Linked DNA regions of Homo sapiens: region 1 is linked to region 2. Evidence: promoter capture Hi-C in human tissues and cell types (Jung and others, 2019). All regions are on one chromosome and are shown on one strand. Each heading gives the region's core, a stretch centred on a gene start or on the middle of the fragment in contact. The rest is flanking DNA. Distances are from core to core; before and after follow the strand shown.

The links. Contacts are between HindIII fragments. The study calls those that stand out against the background at their distance.
Region 1: a fragment that was not itself captured here is called in contact with the fragment with the promoter of TRAPPC10 in region 2 in 1 of the 25 tissues and cell types used here (dorsolateral prefrontal cortex).

The regions. Positions count from the first base shown.
Region 1 is chr21:45,124,877-45,131,120 of GRCh38, reverse strand. ADARB1 (adenosine deaminase RNA specific B1) reads right to left here. Exons shown (of 11, transcript NM_001112.4): 2 at 2,548-2,719. Among named protein-coding and RNA genes, the nearest start is that of ADARB1, 53 kb to the right of the region's middle. RefSeq lists an enhancer at 5,492-5,671. The HindIII fragment of the contact is 3,738 bases long and covers 2,240-5,977 here.
Region 2 is chr21:44,008,137-44,013,844 of GRCh38, reverse strand. It overlaps TRAPPC10 (trafficking protein particle complex subunit 10), which reads right to left and starts at 1,536. Exons shown (of 23, transcript NM_003274.5): 1 at 1,285-1,536. The coding sequence starts at 1,351. RefSeq lists enhancers at 32-81, 102-161 and silencers at 712-1,381, 1,532-1,911. The HindIII fragment of the contact is 5,486 bases long and covers 1-2,843 here.

The DNA of each region.
Region 1 (6,244 bases), core at 2,859-5,358, 1.1 Mb before region 2:
TTCAGCATGACACTGCTTTTTAACATTATATGGCTATAATTATATAAGGTAATATCTTCTGTGAACTTCATTTTAAAATAAAAAGATGAGTTAATAAATATTTGTTACAAAAAGAAGATGTGGTGTGGGGTGGCAATGAGAAAGACTGAGAAAGCTTTCCAGGCTTCAACAAGAGTCAAGGTTTCCCGAAGCCCTCCTCAGCAATTCCTCTTGCGCAGGGGAATTACTATAGGAATTCTATCTATTGTATCCCCCCAAGATGTTCCAGCCTCAGAAGATAATCTCATGTATAAAAACACAAGAAATAACTTCAGTCTTTTCAAGCAAAAAGAAAGGCAAAAACAGTGAGTCTGCCTGAAACTAAAAATAACTCCCCACAGCCCTGCAGTGCGACCTGTGGCTACACGGCACAGACAGCACTAAGGCAGGACCCGGGAGGGAGGCTCAGAGGGAAACCAGACAGTGCAGTGAGGCTGAGGACGGCCGTGCTTCCAAAGATGTTCCAGCCAAAATCTTTCATGTTTATTTATTTTTATTTAAACCACCCTGAAAAGGGAAAAGAATAACACGCCAAACTGTTTGCTGCCGAAATTAGCTCTTATTTTATGAAAGAAAGGAAATACACGATTTCTATTCGCAGCTAGCATTTAGTAACACAGAATCAGGAGGAGGAGATATGACTCATCATGTCGTAATATTTTATAATTTCCAGCTCTTCAGTTTTGCTTTCTCAGCACATGCTTTAGATATCTCCTTCTGGCCTGATTATTTTTTCTATGCTTTTAAGAACAATTTATTGGTGCAAAGGATTATAAATAATTCATTTCTCCAATGCACAGTTATATTATATAAAAATACTTGCTATTTCACATATATGGCATAATTAATGCAATGTTTTACTTCTGTGGCATGTTAAAAATAGGTAGTCACAAATCGACACTTAACTTAGCAATATTAAACCACAACGTCTCTTTCAGACTCATTCCAACTCTGGGATCCTCATTCTTTCAATAACCTCTGGTTACAGAGAAGCTGATTTCCTATCACTAATTAAGCTAGAAGAAGCGCTGTGGCTGAAAATAAAATCCCATCCCACAGCACAAGCCATGATAAAGGTGACCTGATTTTGACCTTCCCATACTTGGACTGCCTGTGTACCCCCCCAAAAAAAGCATCGGTTGAAGATAAAGCCTCCTTTAAAGGTCTCGCTAGGGAACCAGTTACCTGAAATTCCTGACATTTACAGACAGAAATGGCAAGCAGGACCTTTGCTGGCACAAACTCAAAACCCAGTAGTCAGACATGGGTGTGTCTCTACTCCCCAAAGACGGCGTCCCCCCTAGGCTCCCAGCCACTCTCATCCATCCACGCTCACGCCCTGGTGACCGCCCCCTACCTATGGCTCTGCACCAGCCACTCCCATCTGTCCACACTCACGCCCTGGTGACCGCTCCCTCCCCACAGCTCTGCATGCCATCCCGAACTCCCAGGCGGGAGCACGGCTGTGTCCAGTGAGCGGCTCACATGAGAGCTGCCAAGCGAGCGCCTGGTCCCTGCCATGCCCAGAGGGCATCTGAGGCCCAGTGGGCGCTCGTCAGTATCCACAGAGCAAATGGACACAGGAGCACACCTGCGTTCCTCCAGCCAGCAGCAGCCCTCTGACACCTTCTCTTTCCCCTCATCTCATCTGAACCCATGAAAAAGCTTCCCTGGAAATGTACAACTGGACTTCCTGAGTTAGTCACTCAGCTGCTCATAAGTAAATTAATCTGACACCATACTAATTTTACTGGGATTTTAGTATTTGTCACAACTTCTCTCAAAAGCAGACGCTGAATCATGAGATAGTCGCCAAAAATAAGTACTAAAGAAATGTTCTTCTTTTTTTTTTTGAGAAAGAGTCTTGCTCTGTCACCCAGGCTGGAATGCAACGGCATGATCTCAGCTCACTGCAGCCTCTGCCTCCCGGGTTCAAGCGATTCTCCTGCCTCAGTCTCCCGAGGCTGGGACTACAAGCGTGCACCATCACACCTGGCTAATTTTTGTATTTTTGGTAGAGATGGGGTTTCGTCACGTTGGCCAGGCTGGTCTCAAACTCCTGGCCTCAAGTAATCTGCCTGCCTCAGCCTCCCAATGTGCTGGGATTACAGGAAAATTTTCTTTTAATTACTCCTAAGAAAATAATAATTGATGGTAAAAGGCTTTCACCAAGTCTAGTGCCCGGCATGAAGCACTGACTCAATAAATGGTGAACTGACCCCAAAGAGGGCAGCAAGTGCCACACATGCCACTGGAGGGCAGCAGGTGCCACACATGCCACTGGAGGGCAGCAGGCACCACCCCAGAACAAGCAGGAGGGACTCATGGGTGAGCTAAGGCTGCAGTAAGATTAGAAATCAACCAACAGTAACAGATCATCTGTGCCGGGAAGTATTCAATAAAGCATCTTTCAAAGGCAAGCCAAAAGGCTTAATTAAGCGGTTTATATCAAGAAAAAGGCATTTCTACCAGTCAGATTTGATCAGATCTTTACAGGTTTTTACTCACCTTGAAATTTTTCTAGCTTTATGTCTGCTCTGATCCCAAGGCAGCTTCCTTCGGTGCGAGCGGACTGAGAGAGTATCTCAGCAGGACTGAAGTAAGCAGAACTCCGCGCTTGGCCAGTGTGTCTCCTTCAGTTGCCCCTTAAGCTCTCCATGCCAGCCTGAAAGGCTCCACTCTGTGTAACAGAGAGATTCGGTAACTTCACACTTGTTTGATTCAGTATCAAAAGCTTTGTCACCATTTCAGAAGTGAACTCTATAACAATAAATACTCTCCATGAAAAGTCTTCTAAATACAAATTTAAGTTATTTTAAATGTACTCTTCCGAATCTGTAAAGGGGATATGCGCAATCCATCACGTCTCCGTCCGTCTGCCTGCAGCAGGTAGAGGCACCTGTGACAGACGGAGGCAGATCGCTGCCAGCCCAACATCTCGGCATCAGCGGCACCAGGCCACACACTGAGGACTGGAGTCTCAGGCAGAATCTCACACGTACTCATCTTTTTTACAATTCAATATGCACACACCCCTACACATGCACACATGTGAATGTGAGTCCAGATACAGAGACGCACCATCCCTGCACGTGCTCTGCCCGGGTTTGGAAGCTACAGGCCACCTCTGCTTCTGAAGCAGAGGTTGTGAAACAGTATCTCCATCTAGTTTCTGCTCTGTGTGAAAGCGTTTTCAACCAGCAAGCCATTAGAGAAAATGTTTCAACATGCTAATATAATTATAAAACCTCAATATGGAGTATTAAAATTTTCTTCCTGAAAAGCAAACTGATATCCAAAAGAAGGGGAAGTCTGCAATGGGTTTCTCCATTGCAGAGTTCCAAAGAGAAGTCTCTGGGAGGTGTGTCCAGGGGTGAGCGGGTTTCTGAGTGGGAACCTGGAGGAAGGAGGTGAAGTGTGGGATAAGGTGCGCGTGAAAGTGGCTCGACTCTCGCTATGCAGACTTGGCCAGGCCATCACAATGCGTTCCTGCTGCCCCGGTCGCTGCTGCAGTCCTCAGAGGAGATTGGAGGCTACCTTCCAAACCTCCCACCTGTGACCAGCTGACATTCATCTACAACACACGTCAGCTCGTCTGCTGGGACAGACCTAAGACACAGAGACAAGCTCACCTGTGTCCTGCACTAGCACCATCAAGTCAAATGGGCTGTCACTGAAAATGCTCTATCAGCCTGGAATTACAGGTCACAGAGTCATCTTGTCCAGCACAGAGAATGAGGGCCACATGTCCAGAACTGTCCCCACTATCAATGACCCCCATCATCCCCACACCAGATTCAAGCTCCCAAATCACCCTCCCCAGCGGTCCCAATCACCACGCCTGGGTGGAGAGTGTCAAGAAGTGCAAGGACGTTGGCCTCTGACCTTCAGCGTTGCCTCCACTCAGTCCGAATCCAGCTCCACCACAGCCCCTCCCCAGTGGGCAGAGAGCAAGGGCCCCGAGTGAGCATGAGCTGAACAAGCTTCTCTGGAGATGGCACCTAGCCCCTCCCTCAATCCAAAGAGCCACAAAGAAGTAAAATCCATTCTAGAAGCTTTACACACCAAAAAGTCCACCGCCTAAACAGAGAAAGAAAAACACAGCAGAAAGGACATGAAACCAAGATTTACAGAACTGGGTTCTAGTGCCCACATCATGTCCCACCAACTCTGCAAGCCTGGCCAAGAAATCTGACCTCCCTGGGCCGTCTGCAGGATGGGAAACTGCATGGGAAGCCCAGCCACTTTGAGGAGGGAGCAGGTGATATGCAGAGTGGGTTTTGGAAGCTGCAAAGTCTAAACATCAAGTGTGAGAATGGTTGCCTCCCATTTGAGTACACTCATACCAACTGAGGTAAAACTGCCATACTTGCCAGGAGTATTGCAAGGGGTTTCAGGAAAAGCATGGCTTCCAGGAAAGAGGGGTCCAGGCCACCACCCTAGACCTCAGCCTTGCAGTCGTGTGACTTGAACAGTGACTCAGCCCCTTCCAGGCTTGCTCCTATGAGGACAGGACGAGGACACAAGGAACACCCGCCGCAGATGGTGCCGTGAGGATTAAATGGAGGAACAGATGTAGAGTGCTTGGCCCCGTGACTAAGATCACAGTAGGGGCGCAATAAAAGATGGTCAAAAACACCGGAGTCTTTTTGTCATGGAGGGAGTGGAGAGGAGCAGGTGACAGAGACAGCAGACAGCGGCTGAAAAAACAAAACAGTGGAGAGATGGAAGATCTGCACAACACAATTAACAAGCTGCATGGTGGTCACATGCAAGACGCTGCTCCTAACAGTGCATCACACATCAGCTCCTCAAGGACACATGAGCCACTTCTAAAAATAGACCATATCCCAGCCGTAAAGAAAATCTCAACATATTTCAGGTGGCTGAAATCAGACAGAGCTCATCCTCTGATCGTAATACCATGAGCCTAGAAATTAACAAGCCAAGTATAACTAGAAAGTCCCATATGTCTGAGAGTTCAGCAATACACTTCTAAATAATCCATAGACAAAAGAAAATAATCACAGGAGAAAACAGAAAACACTTAGAACTTAAAACTAGAAAAGATTATGTACAGAATTGTGTGGCACACAGATAAAGCAGTACATCAGAGGGACCTTTATAGCTCGGTGCTCAAGCTAGAATAGGAGTAAAAAAATTAAAGAGTGCCTACCTGAACAAGTCAGGGAGAGAAGAACAAAGTAAGCTCAAAGAAAACAGAAAAAGGGAACTAGTAAGAAATTCAACCTGTATTAATTACATATAACGGCAGGTACACAAAGATAAACATTGGTTCTTTGAAAAGACAATGCAGTGAACCAGTGATCTCTGGCAAGACTCATGGAAACACAGAAAGGGAACACAAGAGAAAAAGCCCAAATTAACCAGCCTTGGAATTGAATTGGAGGGCAGGAAGGCCTGATGGCCACAATGTGACTCTCCTGTCCTTGTGTGGGAAGATCTTACTTCCCCCAATGAGTCCCAGCAGGCGGGTGACTGCTCTGGCCCATTGAACGCAGCAGGCGTGGTACTGCCAGGTCCAGACCAGCACCTGAAGAGGAAGCCAGATTCCACCTCCTATTTCTGGGAACACTGTCTCTGGGGAGCCAACTCAGATGCTCTGAAGAGATCACAGGGGCTACATGCAGAGAAGGATGTCTAGTCAGCCCCAGGCGGGAGCCAGCCACCTCACTGAAGAAGCCTTCTCATACAGGACACTGAGAAGAACCAAGAAAGCCACAGCTGACAGCCAGAAGCAGAGCTCCAGACACTCAGGCTACCTGGCTGAGCATTAATAAAGTGATTGTTGTTTATGTCACTAAGTTGGGAATGGGTCATCAGGCGGCAAGAGAAACCAAAATGGAATTATCACTTAAACTCTGACAACACTAAAAATATAGTAAGAGGCTTTATAAACTTTATTCCAAAAAGCTTGTAAGCTTAGGTTAAATGAAGAAACTCCAAGAGAAATACAACTTATTAGGCTGGGTGCGGTAGCTCACGTCTGTCATCCCAGCACTCTGGGAGGCTGAGGCAGGTGGATCACTTGAGCCCAGGAGTTCAAGACAAGCCTGAGCAACATAGCAAAACCATCTGTACTAAAAATACAAAAATTAGCCAGGCGTAGTAACACACGCCTGTCATCCCAGCTACTTCGGAGGCTGAGGTGTGAGAAATCACCTGAGCCTGAATGGTCGAGGCT
Region 2 (5,708 bases), core at 287-2,786:
GGGAGGAAAAAAGACAGCTACTGCTGAACTATGCAAGTCTCCAATTTTAAATGAGACACAGTCCACTTCCCTAAGAAAAGTCTATCATCTCGTCTAGGTCTCTGTAGAAAAAAAAGAGAGAGGAGGAGAGGAGAAGAGACAAAATAAAGCAAAAGGAAGGAAAGAAATAAGTCTATCACCTAAAGCTGAAGCAACAAAATTCAACCTTCAATATACAGTTTCTCAGGGATCTAACAGGAAGGAACACAGCAGGTGCACACCCGCTGACAGAGTGAGAGGGAAACAGGAGTTCTCACGACATACAGTCTACTGTGGCCTGGGCACCCAGATTTTGCAACAGAGAGTGCTTCCTTTCCAAGCACGAAAGACAACTAGAAAAAAACTAACTGCATACATGCATGAAAATACAGAATACTGTCAAAGGTCAAAAATCGTAACAGTCTGAAACACCTCTCTGCAAGTCACCTAAAAGCCAACCAACAAACATTTCAATACTTCCCATAAGCTCACTGTTCTTAACCGTATTTAACTCTGGAGAGTCACACTTCTAAAATTTAGGGAACATTTTTCCCGTAACAGAAAAACAGTTCCTTTGTGTATGCATTAAAGGAGGGGTGCGGGGAGGACACGACACCCAAGAGGCACCAGGTGTCCGTAGTGTAGACTCGAGCGGGAGGCTGTTCATGGGGAGCAAGCTCGCCTAAGCGCCCGAGCCTCGGCTTTCTCATCCGTAAAATGGTTTGAGTGCGCGGCGGGGAAGTGTGTAGGAGCGAAAGCAGTCCCGGCGGCTCTGCCTGACGCTTCACCCCGCAACAAACTGTTCCTACTTCGCCAACGCCTGCAACTCTGCGAGCCCCCAAGGACTTCCCCGTAGTCGGGGAAAGGGCGCCCGCGGGCAAAACCGCCCGGCGGAAGAGGCCGGGGCCCCCAGGTCCCGGGCGCGCGGCTCAACGGGGGCGGGACGGGGCGGTGGCAGCCCCCGCTCCTCGCCCTCGACGCCGGCGCGCGCCCAGTCCCGGGCAGAGTCCGCCGGGTTCCACCGGCTCCAACTGCAGCCGGCCCGAGGGCGCCCCCCAGGGGTCAGAGGTCGCCCGGCGGGAAGGTCAGAGGGCGTCCCCGAAAAGTCAGAGGGCCCCGCCTCAGCCGCAGCCCTGGTCACACCTCCAGGAAGCGGCCCAGCCCGGAGCGCGCCGGGGGCTGAAGGTCTGGGGGCGCCGGGTGCATAACGCCAGGGCCCGGGCCCGCCCAACGACCGCCGCGCCCTCCCCGCCTCCGGGCACTCACAGGTGACGATGGGCTTGTTCTCCATGGTGTAGATCACCGGCGGCAGCGGCTCCTCAGAGGCGTCCATGGGCGTCCGGCGTCACCGGCCCGGCCCCCCGCGCCCCATGGGCAGCCCCGAGGCCGCGCCGGGCCCAGCCGGAGCCCGAGCCTGAGCGGCGCCGCCCGCCCGGCCGCGCCAGGCAGCTCCGGAGCCGGTTGCGCCGCAGCTGCCGCCCGCTGCTGCCGGCCTCAGCCACTTCCGGCCTCGGCGCCGCCGCATGACCATTTCCGGGGCGCGCGAGGCTTCACGGGGCGGGTCTTCGCCGCGCTTCGCCTCCGACGGAAGTGCGCCCGGGCCGGCCGCGCGGGACCGGGAGGTGGGAAGTGGGAGGCGGAGCGGGGCTCCCGGGACACGTCCATCTTCCTCCCTCGGCAGTGGGCGCCCCGCTGGGCCCTGCGCCGGAGCTGAGGCCAGGACTCGGCAGGCGGGCCTCGCGCGCGGTGAGCGAGCCTGGACGCTCCCGGACCAGAGACGCCGGCCTCGCTGCCCTCGCGTTCCCCGCAGCTCGGGCGTCCCGCGGCGGGCCGCTGCTCCCCGGCCGGGCTCCTTATCGCGCTGGGGGCTCCCGCAGGCCCTCGCCGCTGAGTGTCCCCGGCGCGTGCCTTCCGCCTACCGCTGGGCTCTTCCCGTTTCCCTCACGCCGCAAATGTTTTTGTGGGGACCTGGCCCTCGGCATTTCGGAATGCCACAAAATAAACCTCACACTTAACTGCATATGGGCTTCTTGTGCACGTAAACGGGGGGGGCGGGGCGCGGGTGTTTCTTTTTCTTTTTTTCTTTGGAGCAGGGTCTTCCTCAGTTGGCTCAGGCTGGAGTGCAGTGGCGGGACACGGCTCACTGCAGCCTCCACCTTCCAGGCTCAAGCGATCCTCCCGCCTTGTTTCCCCCCGCCCCACCCCCTCCGCCAGTAACTGGGACCACGGGGGCAGCCACCACGCCCAGCTAATTTTTTTCTTTTCTTTTCTTTTGTCGGGATCTCACTATGTTTTCCAGGCTGGTTTCAAACTCCTGGGCTCAAGTGATCCTCCAGCCTTGGCCTCCCAAAGTGTTGAGATTACAGGTGTGAGCCATCACTCCCAGCCATAAAATGACAAAAACTGTCAACCAAAAATAATCAAAAGGGTCAGAATCTAGAGTTTAGTCAAATGCGAAGCTTGAGGCGCCCAGGAAACATTATAAAGAATGGAAGTCAGTGTTCTCAAACGTAGAAATTTGGGGTCGTTTCTATAGCCAGCGTCTCGGGAAGCCTAACCGAATTTCAGCGTCTTTTCTGTATAAGGCCTAATGCATAGTTACAACAGTCTGTTTAGTCGAGGTGGTCTTTTTCTTTGGGGACCCACTGAAGATGAAACAGTCCTGGGGTCTCTGTGCTGTCTGGTCTAAGTCAGGTACAGGACAATGGAGACAGCTAATCTGTAACAAAAATCACCAAATGGGAAGGGGGAGACCTGGTCTTTCTTAGTCATTAACAGCAGCAGTCCCCAACCTTTTTGGCACCAGGGACCAGTTTCATAGAATGCAGTTTTTCCACAGACAAAGTTGGGGTGGTTTCAGGACGATTCAAACACATTTCATTTATTGTGCACTTTATTATTTTTATGTTGTAATATGTAATAAAATACAACTTCCCATAATGTGGAATCAGTGGGAGCCCTGAGCTTGTTTTCCTGCAACTGGACGGTCACATCTAGGGATGATGGAAGCCAGGGACACATCATTAGGGATGAGATTCTCATAAGGAGCACGCAACCTAGACCCCTCCAATGTGCAGTTCACAACAGGGTTCACCCTCCTAGGAGAATCCAGCGCTGCTGCTGACCTGACAGGAGGCGGAGCTCAGGCGGTAATGCCAGCGATGGGGAGCAGCTGTAAATACAGATGAAGCTTTGCTCCCTGGCCTGAAGCTCACCTCCTGCTGTGTGGCCTGACCGGTATGTGTCTGTGGCCCTGGCGGTCGGGGAGCCCTGATTTACAGAGCAGCCACAATGAGGAAGACACTTGTGCTCAAGAACAAGGAGGAAGAGCATTAAACTGTAATCGAAGAAGCAGAATTGCAAACTTGCTACTGACTCAGTCTCCAGGGCTTAACTTCACCCTTGGCATCATAAGTTTAGAGAGTCCTGAAGTTTTTTTTAACAAAATGTATATATGAGATAGTTTGGGTGTGAACACAGCTGCTAAATGTGTGAACATAGTGTAGTGTGGTGCACTGTAATGGTGTGAGAGGCAAGAGACCAGACTTCTGGGCAGCTAAAGCAGCAGGCCGGCAAGGCAGGGCACTGGAGGGGAAGAAGCTTAGCAAGAGTGGGGAGCCGAAGTCGATGTAGGGTTCCCTGAAAGTCCTTGGCCTAGGCTGGACTACACGTGTGGGACGACTCTATGGGTTTACCAGGAAGCGGCTGTTACAGAGTTGAGGATGGCACAAAGACTAGAGGTCCAGTAGTGCTACAGGAAAGGACTTTCCGTTTTGTTTTCTTTTCAGACAGTCTTGTTCTGTCACCTAGGCTGGGGTGCAGTGGTTTGATCGTTATCTCAGTGCAGCCTAGAACTTCTGGGCTCAAGTGATCCTCCCACCTCAGCCTCCCAAGTAGTTGGGACCACAGGTGAGTGCCACCACGCCCGGCTAATTTTTTCTTTTTTTGTAGAGAGAGGGTCCCACTCTGTTGCCCAGGCTGGTCTTGAACTCCTGGCCTCAAGCAGTCCTCCTGCCTAATCCTCCCAAAGTGCTGGGATGACGAGTACGAGCCACCGTGCCCAGTCAAGACCTTTTTAATGCCATTAACACTGAGGACATTGAGCTGAGACACTAGATTGAGAATCACATTCCCAGGGGTCAGCAAACGACCTATAAAGGGCCCAGATAAGTATTTTAGGTTGTGTGGGCCACATGCAGTTTTTGTTTCATATTTTTGCTTGTTTTTTTTTTTTTTTTAAACAACTCTTTAAAAATATAAAAGCCATTCCTGGCTTTAAGTGCTGTACAAAAACAGGCCATCAACACATGTGGCTTGTGAGCCAGAGGTTGCCAGTCCCTCCCCTAGAATAAGGACTACTCCAGGCCCGCCTTAACAACGTCTAAAGCAAAACCCTGACCCGATCCACAAGACGGTCAGAGTTTGGAGGTTAAGTCCTGCCAAGTAAGAGGGGCCTGGGAGACACCTGGGACATTGCTCAGTAAACAGAGCCTAAAGCTAAGCCTACACAGCCCAGCATGGTACGTCCAGTAATGGAACTACAAACTAGAACGAAAGTCAGGATTTTTCAGTGGAAGAGCACCCTGAGTCTCCCTCATTTGTTATTTATCAGTGTTGAATATACACTAAAAAAACAAAAATCACTAAACATACAAAGAAAGAGGAAAACGTAAGCCATAGTTAAGAAAAAAAAAAAGCAGTTAACAGAAACCAATCCCCCTACAATGAACCAGATTCTGTATTTACAAAGATTCTAAAGCAGCTCTACATATGTCCAAAGGAGGCTGGGCACGGTGGCTCACACCTGTAATCCCAGAAATTTGGGAGGCCGAGGTGGGCAGATCACTTGAGCCCAGGAGTTTGAGATCAGCCTGGCCAACATGGTGAAACCCCATCTCTACTAAAAACACAAAAATTAGCTGGGTGTGGTGGCGCACGCCTGTAGCCCCAGCTACTCGGAAAGCTGAAGCAGGAGAATCGCTTGAATCCGGGAGGTGGAGGTTACAGTGAGCCAAGATAGTGCCACTGCACTCCAGCCTGGGTGACAGAGCAAGACTCCATCTCAAAATAAATAAAAATAATATGTCCAAAGGATTAAATGAAAATATTGTCTTAATGAGTAAAGAATCAGAAATTCACAGCAGAATAACAAAGTATCTAAAAGAATCAAAAGAAAAGTCTAGAACTGAAAAGTACAATAACAGAAATGAAAATTTCACTGAATTGGATTAACAGATTGGAGAAAACAGGAGTTTGGGATCTTGAAGGCAGATGGATAGAAATTATTTAATCTGAAGAAGAGAAAAAAGTTGAAGAAAAGTGGAGAGAACCTCAGAGACCTATGGGACAGTATGAAATGGCCAAAAGCATGTGTGATCGGAGCTCCAGAAGGAGAGTATGAGTCTAGGAAGGAAACATTTTTGCAAAATGATGGCTCCAAATCCAAACACGTGGTGAAAAATACTGATTTACAGATCAAGAAATTCAGCAAAACCTGAAGAGAACACATACAAAGAAAATTACATGCAGGCATATCATACTCAAACTGGTGAAATAGATCAAGAGAAAAAAAATGTTTTGGTGGGGGGACAGGGTCTTGCTCTGTCGCCCAGGCTGGCGTGCAGGGGCACAGTCACGGCTCACTGTAGCCTCAGTCTTCTGGCTTCAAGCCATCCTCCCACTACAGCCTC